Regions from separate parts of the Homo sapiens genome. Here region 2 is linked to region 1. The links are contacts of gene promoters, found by promoter capture Hi-C in blood cells and fetal thymus (Javierre and others, 2016). All regions are on one chromosome and are shown on one strand. Each heading gives the region's core, a stretch centred on a gene start or on the middle of the fragment in contact. The rest is flanking DNA. Distances are from core to core; before and after follow the strand shown. Region 1 holds the start of NLRX1 (NLR family member X1). Region 2 overlaps PHLDB1 (pleckstrin homology like domain family B member 1).

Region 1 (4,898 bases), core at 1,347-3,846:
GGATTACAGGTGTGAGCAACCACACCCCGGCCTCATGCTATAACTTTTTTTTTTTTTTTTAGACAGAGTCTCACTCTGTAGCCAAGGCTGGAGTGTGTAGTGGCATGATCGCGGCTCACTGCAACCTCTGCCTCCTGGGTTCAAGCGATTCTCCTGCCTCAGCCTCCTGAGTAGCTGGGACTACAGGTGCCTGCCACCAAGCCTGGCTAATTTTTTTGTATTTCTAGTAGAGACGGGGTTTCACCACGTTGGTCAGGCTGGTCTCGAACTACTGACCTCAGGTGATCCACCCACCTCGGCCTCCCAAAGTGCTGGGATTATAGGGTGAGCCACTGCACCGCATCCTAGGTCAGACAACAGAGGACATGCCCACGGCATGACTCACAGTACTTCTGTCTGCAAGAGGCCAGTCAAAGTATATGTTATTAATAAAACCTACATGGTTGTCGTACCCATGGGGAAGGTGACAGGGGAGGAAAACAGATTGCTCTGAGCTGTGTCCAGGAACTGCTGCCAGGTGACTGTCTTGCATGGCTAGGTAAGTGGAATGAAGCTAGAGGAGATTACCAGGCCCAAACTGTCACCCATGAGACTACATTCATGGGGTTCCTATACTTCCCCTCCCACATCCTATTCTACTCCCCTTGAAGAACCTCTTTTAAAATGCAAATGTGTTGTTCACCCTGCTGCTGGGATGCCCTGCCTTTCCTTTCTCTGATTTATTTATTTATTGAGACAGGGTCTCTCTCTGTTGCCCAGGTTGGAGTGCAGTGGTGCAATCTTGGCTCACTGCAACCTCCGCCTCCCAGGTTCAAGCAATTCTCCTGCTTCAGTCTCCTGAGTAGCTGTGATTATGGGCATGTGCCACCATGCCCAGCTAATTTTTTGTGCTTTTGTTTTTATTTTTGAGACACGGTTTTGCTTTATCTCCCAGGCTAGAGTGCAGTGGCATGATCTCGGCTCACTGCAACCTCTACCTCCCAAGTTCAAGCAATTCTTGTGCCTCAGCCTTCTGAGTAGCTGGTACTACAGGCCCATGCCACCACGTCTGGTTGATTTTTTTTTTTTTTTTGATACAGAGTCTTGCTCTGTCTCCCAGGCTGGAATGCAGTGGCGTGATCTTGGCTCACGGCAACCTCCGCCTCCTGGATTCAAGCGATTCTCCTGCCTAAGCCTCCTGTGTAGCTGGGACTGCAGGCATGCACCACCCAGCCCGGCTAATTTTTGTATTTTTAGTAGAGATGAGGTTTCACCACGTTGCCTAGGTTGGTCGTGAACTTCTGAGCTCAGGCAATCCGCCTGCCTTGGCCTCCCAAAGTGCTAGGATTACAGGCATGAGCCACCATGCCTGGCCAATTTTTGTTATTTTTAGTAGAGACGGGGGTTTCACCATGTTGGCCATGGTGACGAGTTTGAGCTGGTCCCAAACTCCTGGCCTCAGGAGATCTGCCCTCACCCCCAGCCTTCCAAAGTGCTGAGATTACAGGTGTGAGCCACCGCGGCTGGTCCTCTGATTTATTTTTTCAGATCCAGTACAAATGTTACCTCCTCTGCACTCCCTTTTCCAGACTCTCCTAATGCCTTGCCTCTGCCACTGAAGTACATCATTTGTTTGTCTGTTTTTTATATTTTTATTTTCTATTTTCATTTTAAATAGAGACAGGGTCTCACTATGTCACCCAGGCTGGTCTCAAACTCCTGGTCTCAAGTGATCCTCCTGCCTCGGCCTTGAAGTACATCATTTGTAAATGTGGTAGTTGATTCCATTAAAGTGAGGTGCCTGCCTTGCTGTGGTTGGCAGCCCAGGGCCTAGTGCTGGACCTGGCTTGTGGGGGTGAGGTGCTCAGTGCTACCCAATACCACAGTACAACGAATGAACAAATGTCTAAATGAAACATCCACATTGTTTTCAGTAAGTCCTCTTCCCAGCCCTGCCCTGGAGAGCCTCTCTGTGGGTGCCCTAGTGCACAGCTCTGTTGTGTGAACATCGTACACTCATGCTTGCATACGAAGGCGTGCCCTGGCTGTGGGTGGTGGGTGGCTCCTCCTTCTGGGCTACGTGAGCCCAGGGTGTGGAAGTGTGTGGAAGTGTAGGGATAAGGGTGGGGGCTTTGGGAACTGGGAAGCCCCAGGGCTAGGCCATGAATGGGTGTCAGACCCGAAGAGCAGGTTGGGGTGCAAGTTGTCCTTCAGCCCCCATTCTTCCTTCTTTCTTAACCAAGGTTACCAGCAGCCACACACATAGGTCTGGGCTCTGAAGAGGACCGGATACATAAGGCAGAACCCAAGGAAGCCTTAGGCTCAGGTCTCTGCCTGAAGGTAGGCTGGGGAGGCGGAGAGGGACAGAGGGAAGAATCCCCTGGACACCGCGCCTCAGGGAGGCCCAGGGGTAAGGTAGGAAGACTCAGGCCCGGGATGTTGTTCTGGCTCATCCACTTCCTAACTGAATCAACCTGCACAAGTCATTTCACCCTTCTGAGCATCAGTTTCTTCATCTGTAAAATGGGCCTAACAAGCAGCCCAGCCTGGGAGGTGGTTAGTGAGGTCACTGGGTGTCACTGGCGCTTGGGAACCTGCAGAGGGCAGTACTAGCGGCAGTGCCCGCGGGGATGGAGGCAGGGAGGGGGGACGATGGCGGGACGGGTGGCGCCGGGGTTCCAGCCCTGCGCCTGCTCCGGAGCACCGGGCCCCTCTCGCTGACCCCCTCGTCCCAGGACCCCGCAGGCCCGAGTGCCTGGGCTCGTCCTCTTTCGCGCCCGCTGCCAGGTGCCAGGGCCGCGCAGGCGGGCGGAGGTGGGCAGGAAGCGCCACGCCGAGGAGCCGGGGACTCTGGGAGCTAGCGGGAGACGCCGGCGTCCGCCCAGCCGACCCCTCTGGGCCGCGGCCGACGGCTCCCGGAACTGGGCAGCCGCGGGTAAAGGCCTAGCGGGCTTGATAACCCCTGCGCCCTGGCTGGGAGGCCGCGCTGAGCGGGGGGCAGGGCGGGCCGGGGGAGGAGGCTGTGCAAGGGCCGCGGGGAGATCCCGGCCGAGAACGAGAGGGACGGAGCTGGGCGCTGAATGGCGGGCGTTCTGGCAAGTCTCCCCCTGCGTTCCCGAGGCCACCCGAAAGTAGGAGAGCTGTTTGGGACCCAGTTTGGTGGAGGAGCTCTGGACCTGTAGGAACACCGCCCCTGTACGTTTCCTGCAGTGCCCCCTCCTTTTCTCATTGCCCTGGAGACCTGGGTGATCACCGGAGAACTGCCCTCGGCCCCGCAAGTCCCGTCTTGACTCAGTGGCCCTAGATCCGAGGTTAAACCGGAACCTAGGCTTTCTCAGGCTTCTGGAGCCCTCTCTTAACCCTTCCGCAGCCCCTGGGACGGGCCAGCACCCAGCCAGCTCCTCCGCTGGTTGGCCCTGCTAAGGCAGGTGGCCCAATGCAGCCAGTTCTCCTTAAGCGTACCCTGCCCAAGAAGCCCCGATCTCAGTGGAGGAGACCAGGTGCCAAATAGGGGCACATTCCATTTAAGTGAGTTCAGAGGCCTCAGAAAAGACTTCCCAGGGACGGAGACTTTTGAGCAGGATCTTAAAAGATTGGTTGGGGCCCGAGTGGTGGCTCGCGCCTGCAGTCCCCGCACTTTGGGAGGGCAAGGCGGGCGGATCACTTGAGCCCAGGAGTTCGAGACCACCCTGGGCAACAATGGTGAAAACCCCGTCTCTACAAAAACCAAAGCCAAAAATTAGCCAGGTGTGGTGGCACACCACTTTAGTCCTAGCTACTCAGGAGGCTGAAGCAGGAGGATGGCTTGAGCCCAGGAGGTAGAGGTTGCTGTGAGCTGAGATCGTACTACTGCACTCCAGCCTGGGCAACAGAGCGAGAGACCCTGTCTCAGGAAAAAAAAAAAAAAAAAAAAAAAAAAAAAAAAAATTGGTTGGGACTCTAACAGAGGAAAAAGGTCATTCCAAACTGGGAAGAGTGTATGAACAAATTTAGGACAGCAAGAGCAAGAATCCGGTGAGCCTGGGGTATAAGGCACAGGCTGGGACAAACTCAGAAAAATAGCTTGTGGGAGCCCAGTGTTTGGACTCTATAAGTAACCTTGGACTTTTCGGGAGGTGCTTGGTGCTTGGGGTGAGGGATTAGAATGGGATGAGACTGAAGGCAGAAAGGCTGGTGAGGAGATCGGGTCCAATAAATGCTGGTCGGGGCAGCAACTGGCTGGCAAAGCAGTGGGGAGGAATTGCTAGGACTCTTCACACTGCCTAAAGGAGCAAGGGAAGAAAGATTTGAAGAGAGAGGTCAGGTTTCTAATGTAAGGCGTGGGTGGGAAGATTTGCAGCAAGGTAAATGACAAGAGGAGGGGAATGATGAGTTCAGTTTTACATGGGAGAAGTTTGAAGCAGTGGCAGGTTGTCCATCTGGAGATGTCAAGTGAGAAGTTCATTCATTTATTTATTATTTATGTCAGCCTCAAAGGCTGCTTACATAAAAGTCACAGAGAACATAAAATGATGAAGCCATTAAAACTCAGCTAAAAGGATCTGATATCTGCGGAAGAAAGGCAGAGTGGGGTGGATAATTATTACTGGAAAATCTAGGCACAGAAAAGCCACTGAAAATGAACACAGGACTCCTATCTGAGCTTGCTGGTGGCCAAGAAGGAAAAAGGACACCTAAATAAAGCAGTTTACCAGGGTGGAACTCAGGGAAAGGTGTTCGTGAAGCTTCAGGGGAGAGGCAAGACGTGGCAGGAAGGCCAGGTGTGATGGCTCACACTTGTAATCCCAGCACTTTGCAAGGCCAAGGCAGGCAGATTACCTGAGGTCAGAAGTTCAAGACCAGCTTAACCAACATGGTAAACCCCGTCTCTACTAAAAATACAAAAATTAGCCCAGTGTGGTGGTGGGCGCCTGTAATCC
Region 2 (4,898 bases), core at 1,683-4,182, 550 kb before region 1:
GCGGGCTGCTGCCCCTACTTCCTTTCCAAGTCCCCTGGTAGATGGCTTGAAGAGAGAGTGGAAGGAAACCCTGTTTCCCTGGGTCTGCCTCCTTACCCCTCAGCCACACTCTTAGCTTTCCCCAGTAACATTTCAGCAGCAAGTGGGAAGTTTCTCAGCTTAGCTAGTTGGCCAAGGGATGGGCATGGGGGCATACATTAGTACACAAAGGTCCTCACATCTCAGATACCAAAAACATGAGCCAGGGAGAGAGGGATGCATGGTGGGTGAGGGGCAGTGGGGTGGTGGTGGGGAGTATTCAAGTTCTGGCTCTGGAATCTGTCTTACTCCTGGTTCTAATGGTTTAAGCTTCCTATAGCACCTAGCCAATTAAGAACCCAAGAGTTGAGCCCAATATTCCCAGTATTAGTTATCACTAAAGTTTTTTGTTTTTAATTAAAAAAAATTTTTTTAGCTGATTGTGTTGGGTTGAGGTTGCTTTCTGGGGAAGAAAAGGTGTAGGAGTTGAGACATCTGGAGATAGCAGGAATGGCTGAGTTTTTCTTTTGTGTCTCCTTTAAGAAAACATCCTACTAAAGCCCTGGGAAAAGAGACAAATGGTGAAGAGGAGAATGAAAGGTTGCAGGAGGGAGCTCCTGTTTTAGCCCTGCCACCTACCTGGGGGCCCTCTGGCTACCAGTGTCCTTGGAGGGGCTTCCTTGCTGCTTCTCCCACTAAGGTAGATTTTCCCCACCCTGCTTAAGGCTCCACAGGGCCAAGGGTCTTCAGCTGTCAAAACCCGGGTTCTGAGTAGCATAGGGCAAGAAAGCACAGAAGTATAGATTGGGCCCTATGGGACTGTTTGTGCTTACAGTGGCAGGGGGCAGGACTGGTATCCATGCTGTGGCTGGCTGGAGACTTGGCACTGCTCCCAGACAACTCCCACCCAAGCTCTTTAGCTGCCTCTATTTCCCTTCAGCATGAGCATTTGGGGAATGATGGTGACTGGTGACACCTCTGCCCTGAGAACCCTGCCACAGAACCTACTTCTTTCCCTCTCCTGCCCTGGCCTCCCCACTCACCACCTTTCTGCTGTGTCCCTAGGAGCTCTGGAGCCTTAGGACCATGGACGCTCTCAATAGGAACCAAATAGGCCCTGGATGCCAGACCCAGACCATGGTGCAGGTGAGTGGGATCAGGGCTGTGAGGCAAGAGAGATATAATAGGGATGGGATCAGCTCTTCTACCCCCTTGTGGTCCCAGCCCAAGGATGAAAGGAGCAATTCTGTTCCTCTCTGCCCTTCCCCAGGTCCCAAGCCTATTAACAGCTCAGTCTTTATCTGAATCAGGTTAATTGGTTCACCCAGAAACTACCCATCGAAAGTCCGAAAGCAGTTTACAGATTGACCCTGGGCTGTATCACTCTCCTTGATCCATGCCTCTATCTTCCCTGTACTTGAGCTTAGCAGGGGCAAGCAATGGCCACGTGGATAGCCATGGACAAGTCTGCAGGGAGCTTGATTGGCCTTCCTCTACAGTACCCCTGCTGCTTATCCAATGCCACCCCCACCCCCCACCCCTTTCTCCTTGCTTCTGTTTTAATAGACAAAAGGCACAGTTAAGCCAAGACTTGCGATAAATCCAGTGGGATGAGTTAGTGGCCTAGATTCAGATCTAATTACAATTTAGTGGAATCATGCTCTGTGTAAGATTTTGTGCTAAGCCTTTCAGCACCCTCAGAGCCCTTCGGAGAGGGGCGAGGGCTGGAGAGAGTGCTGGTGTGACTGGTTTAGGGTGGTAAGGTGCTGAATCTAATGATGCTTGTCCTCCACCCGTACTACCTACAGAAAGGACCCTTGGACCTGATCGAGACAGGCAAAGGGCTGAAAGTGCAAACGGACAAACCCCACCTGGTGAGCCTGGGCAGTGGGCGACTCAGCACAGCCATCACCCTCCTGCCGCTGGAGGAAGGTAAGTGTGAACAGGGCATCTCACTCACCACCCCTCTATCCTTATAGGCATTCCTGCCCTGGAGGCCCACCTCCTGCATGTGTTGGGGCCCTTCTACTGTCTGCTGGTGCTCGCCTCCCCACACCACCAGCTTGCTTCCCTTGTCTCTGCCTCCCCAGACTGCCTGCCTTCCTTGGTAGATGATCTGGTTCCACGACTGGGCTTAAAGATCAGCTTAGAAACAAGGAGGAGAGGCCAGGTGTGGTGGCTCACGCCTGTTATCCCAGCACTTTGGGAGGCTGAGGCAGGCGGATCACGAGGTCAGGAGTTCTAGACCAGCCTGGCCAATATGGTGAAACCCCATCTCCACTACAAATACAAAAATTAGCCAGGCGTGGTGGCACGGGCCTGTAGTCCCAGCTACTCAGGAGGCTGAGGCAGAAGAATCGCTTGAACCCAGGAGACAGAGGTTGCAGTGAGCCGAGATCGTGCCACTGCACTCCAGCCTGGGCAACAGAGCGAGACTCTATCTCAAAAAAAAAAAAAAAAAAAAAAAAGAAGAAGAAAAGAAACCATGAAGAAAGCACTGAGAGAAACAGGAGAACACATTGCTCTTAGCAACCAATGTGGCCAAGAAGAAAAAGGGCCCCGCTCCAGGGCATTGTCTTGCATGGGAGGGTATACCATAGATGGAGAATGGAGAGATGGGAGTCAGGGCAAGATCTCCCAAGATGAGGCCCTGGCACAGCCCCCTTCACCTTTCAGCTTCTGCCCGCCCTCTCTACTCTCCTGGCTGCACTTGTTGCCTGGGTGATACTACATTCTCCACATTCTCCAAATACCAGTCCCAGGGGCTCTGTCAGCGGGAGGGGCTGTTCTTGCTGCAGTTAGGGGAGAGCCTGCACTGAAGAGAGAGGTTGCACTGAAGAGAGAGGTTAGCAAGGGAGACGAAGTGTTGCAGGTAGCAGAAGCGGGGGAGAGAAGAAGGAGAGAAAGGGAGATTTAGAAGAAATGAGGAGTAGGATGAAGGGGAAAAAGGATAAAGGACAATAGGGAGAGGCAGTTGGGGGAATAAGGGAAGATCTGCAGAAAAGCAGTCTTCCTTCTCCATCTGTGGAGTCTAGGTCCTACTGTGTGCTGTCTGGGTCTTCCCATCTCTGGGCCTCCCATTCTCAGGCAGAGTTTTCTCTGTTTGAGAACAGCGTCCATCACTTACTGTATAGACCAGGCTCAGGGGCCTAGTAGGGGTGGCCAGTGGTGGGCAGAGATTCTCCCTGGAGTAGGAGGTGGAAATATGTTTCCACTGTGGCCCTCCTTGCCCTGTCACTGCCTCCTCAGCCTGGACAACCCCTCTGATTCAGTTTGCCTCTTGTCTCCAGGGAGGACGGTGATTGGCTCTGCAGCCAGAGACATCTCACTACAGGGCCCAGGCCTGGCTCCAGAGCACTGCTACATCGAGAACCTGCGGGGCACCCTCACCCTCTACCCCTGTGGCAATGCCTGCACTATTGATGGGCTCCCTGTCCGGCAGCCTACCCGGCTCACTCAGGGTAAGGCTGGACACCTCCAGATGGAGGGGGCCTCTGTTTAAAGGCTTGTGTGTATTAGGCACAGGGGAGGCTGGCTGTGGTGGTTGCCATGGTAACTGCCTGAGTGACCATACTGGGAATGGAGTACTCAGGTGCATCTGGATGTGCCTAAACAACATCCCAAACCCTTTCAGCATCCAGACATGTTTTCAACCTGCTTTTCTTCTCTGGTCACCCCCAACCTGTCTCCACATACTATGGGGAGAGAAGAGGTTCTGATTCCCGCCATCAGAGGGCCTGGGGCATGATGGCGTTGTTAATGGTTGTTGGGGAAGAGCAATTGGAGCAGCAGTGAGAGGGTATCAATGGCATTGTTCCATGATGCCAAGAGGAAGTTGTTTTGAGAAGCTGGAGAGGAGGACAATACTTCCTGATGGGGATGGGGCAAGGGTAAATCTCAGGACATGCCTGCTCCTGTTACAAGACTGCTGACAGTAACTTTTGGGTCACGAATATAACCCAAAGCAATAGGCCATTCTGTTGTGTAAGGTAGCTCTAAAAACTAGGCCCCTGGCTAGGCATGGTGGCTCACGCCTACAATCCCAGCACTTTGGTAGGCCGAGGTGGGTGGATCACTTGAGGACAGGAGTTCGAGATCAGCCTGGACAACATGGTGAAACCCTGTCTCTACCCAAAATACAAAAATTAGCCACACGTGGTGGCACACGCCTGTAGTCCTAGCTACTCGGGAAGCTGAGATAGGAGAATCGCTTGAACCTGGGAGGCAGAGGTTGTAGTGAGCTGAGATGGCACCATTGCACTCCAGCCTGGGCAACAGAGCAAGACTCCGTCTCAAAAAATAAATAAATAAAAAATAAAAATAAATAAAAACTAGGCCCATAATTACTATGGTTAGCAGGCAGGTAAGCGGTTGGCCCAGGTAGCACTTTGACAGACCAGGTGTGCTCACCCTGGAAACAGGGTTCTGGGCATCAGTTCATACAGTGAGTTGTCAGATTAGGAGAATGAGAAAAACAGATTTGGGTGGAGGTTAGAGGTGAAGTTAAAGGCTAACAGCAGGACAGGAACTTTGGGCTAAGCCTGGCTCTGAGCAGGCTCTGATGGTCTGGCATTGTTTTCTGGGGGCTCTTACTGCCTAGAAGCCCCTTGGAAGTGGCCATCCTACTCACTCCACTGTCTCCTTCTCTCCTCTTCATCCTCCTTAAGGCCTTTCAATGTCACTTCCTTCACAGCTGATCCAGGAGACCTGACATTTCCCCCGTCTTTTTTTTTGATACGGAGTCTCACGCTGTTGCCCAGGCTGGAGTGCAGTGGCATGATCTCGGCTCACTACAACCTCCACCTCCTAGGCTCAAGCGATTCTCCTGCCTCAGCCTCCCAAGTAGCTGGGATTACAGGCACCTGCCACCGCCCGGCTAA

Evidence for each region. Contacts are between HindIII fragments. The CHiCAGO score rates a contact against its expected background, and 5 or more counts as called.
Region 2: a fragment that was not itself captured here is called in contact with the fragment with the promoter of NLRX1 in region 1 in 1 of 17 cell types (non-activated CD4 T cells); the score reaches 5.0 in non-activated CD4 T cells.

Annotation. Positions count from the first base shown.
Region 1 is chr11:119,166,129-119,171,026 of GRCh38, forward strand. NLRX1 (NLR family member X1) reads left to right here and starts at 2,597. Exons shown (of 10, transcript NM_001282144.2): 1 at 2,597-3,174. RefSeq lists a silencer at 2,506-3,115 and enhancers at 2,687-3,392, 3,393-4,097. The HindIII fragment of the contact is 14,996 bases long and covers 1-4,701 here.
Region 2 is chr11:118,612,733-118,617,630 of GRCh38, forward strand. It overlaps PHLDB1 (pleckstrin homology like domain family B member 1), which reads left to right. Exons shown (of 23, transcript NM_001144758.3): 2 at 1,084-1,164; 3 at 1,827-1,950; 4 at 3,309-3,479. The coding sequence starts at 1,105. Among named protein-coding and RNA genes, the nearest start is that of PHLDB1, 7.6 kb to the left of the region's middle. RefSeq lists enhancers at 2,719-3,236, 3,237-3,753. The HindIII fragment of the contact is 5,173 bases long and covers 347-4,898 here.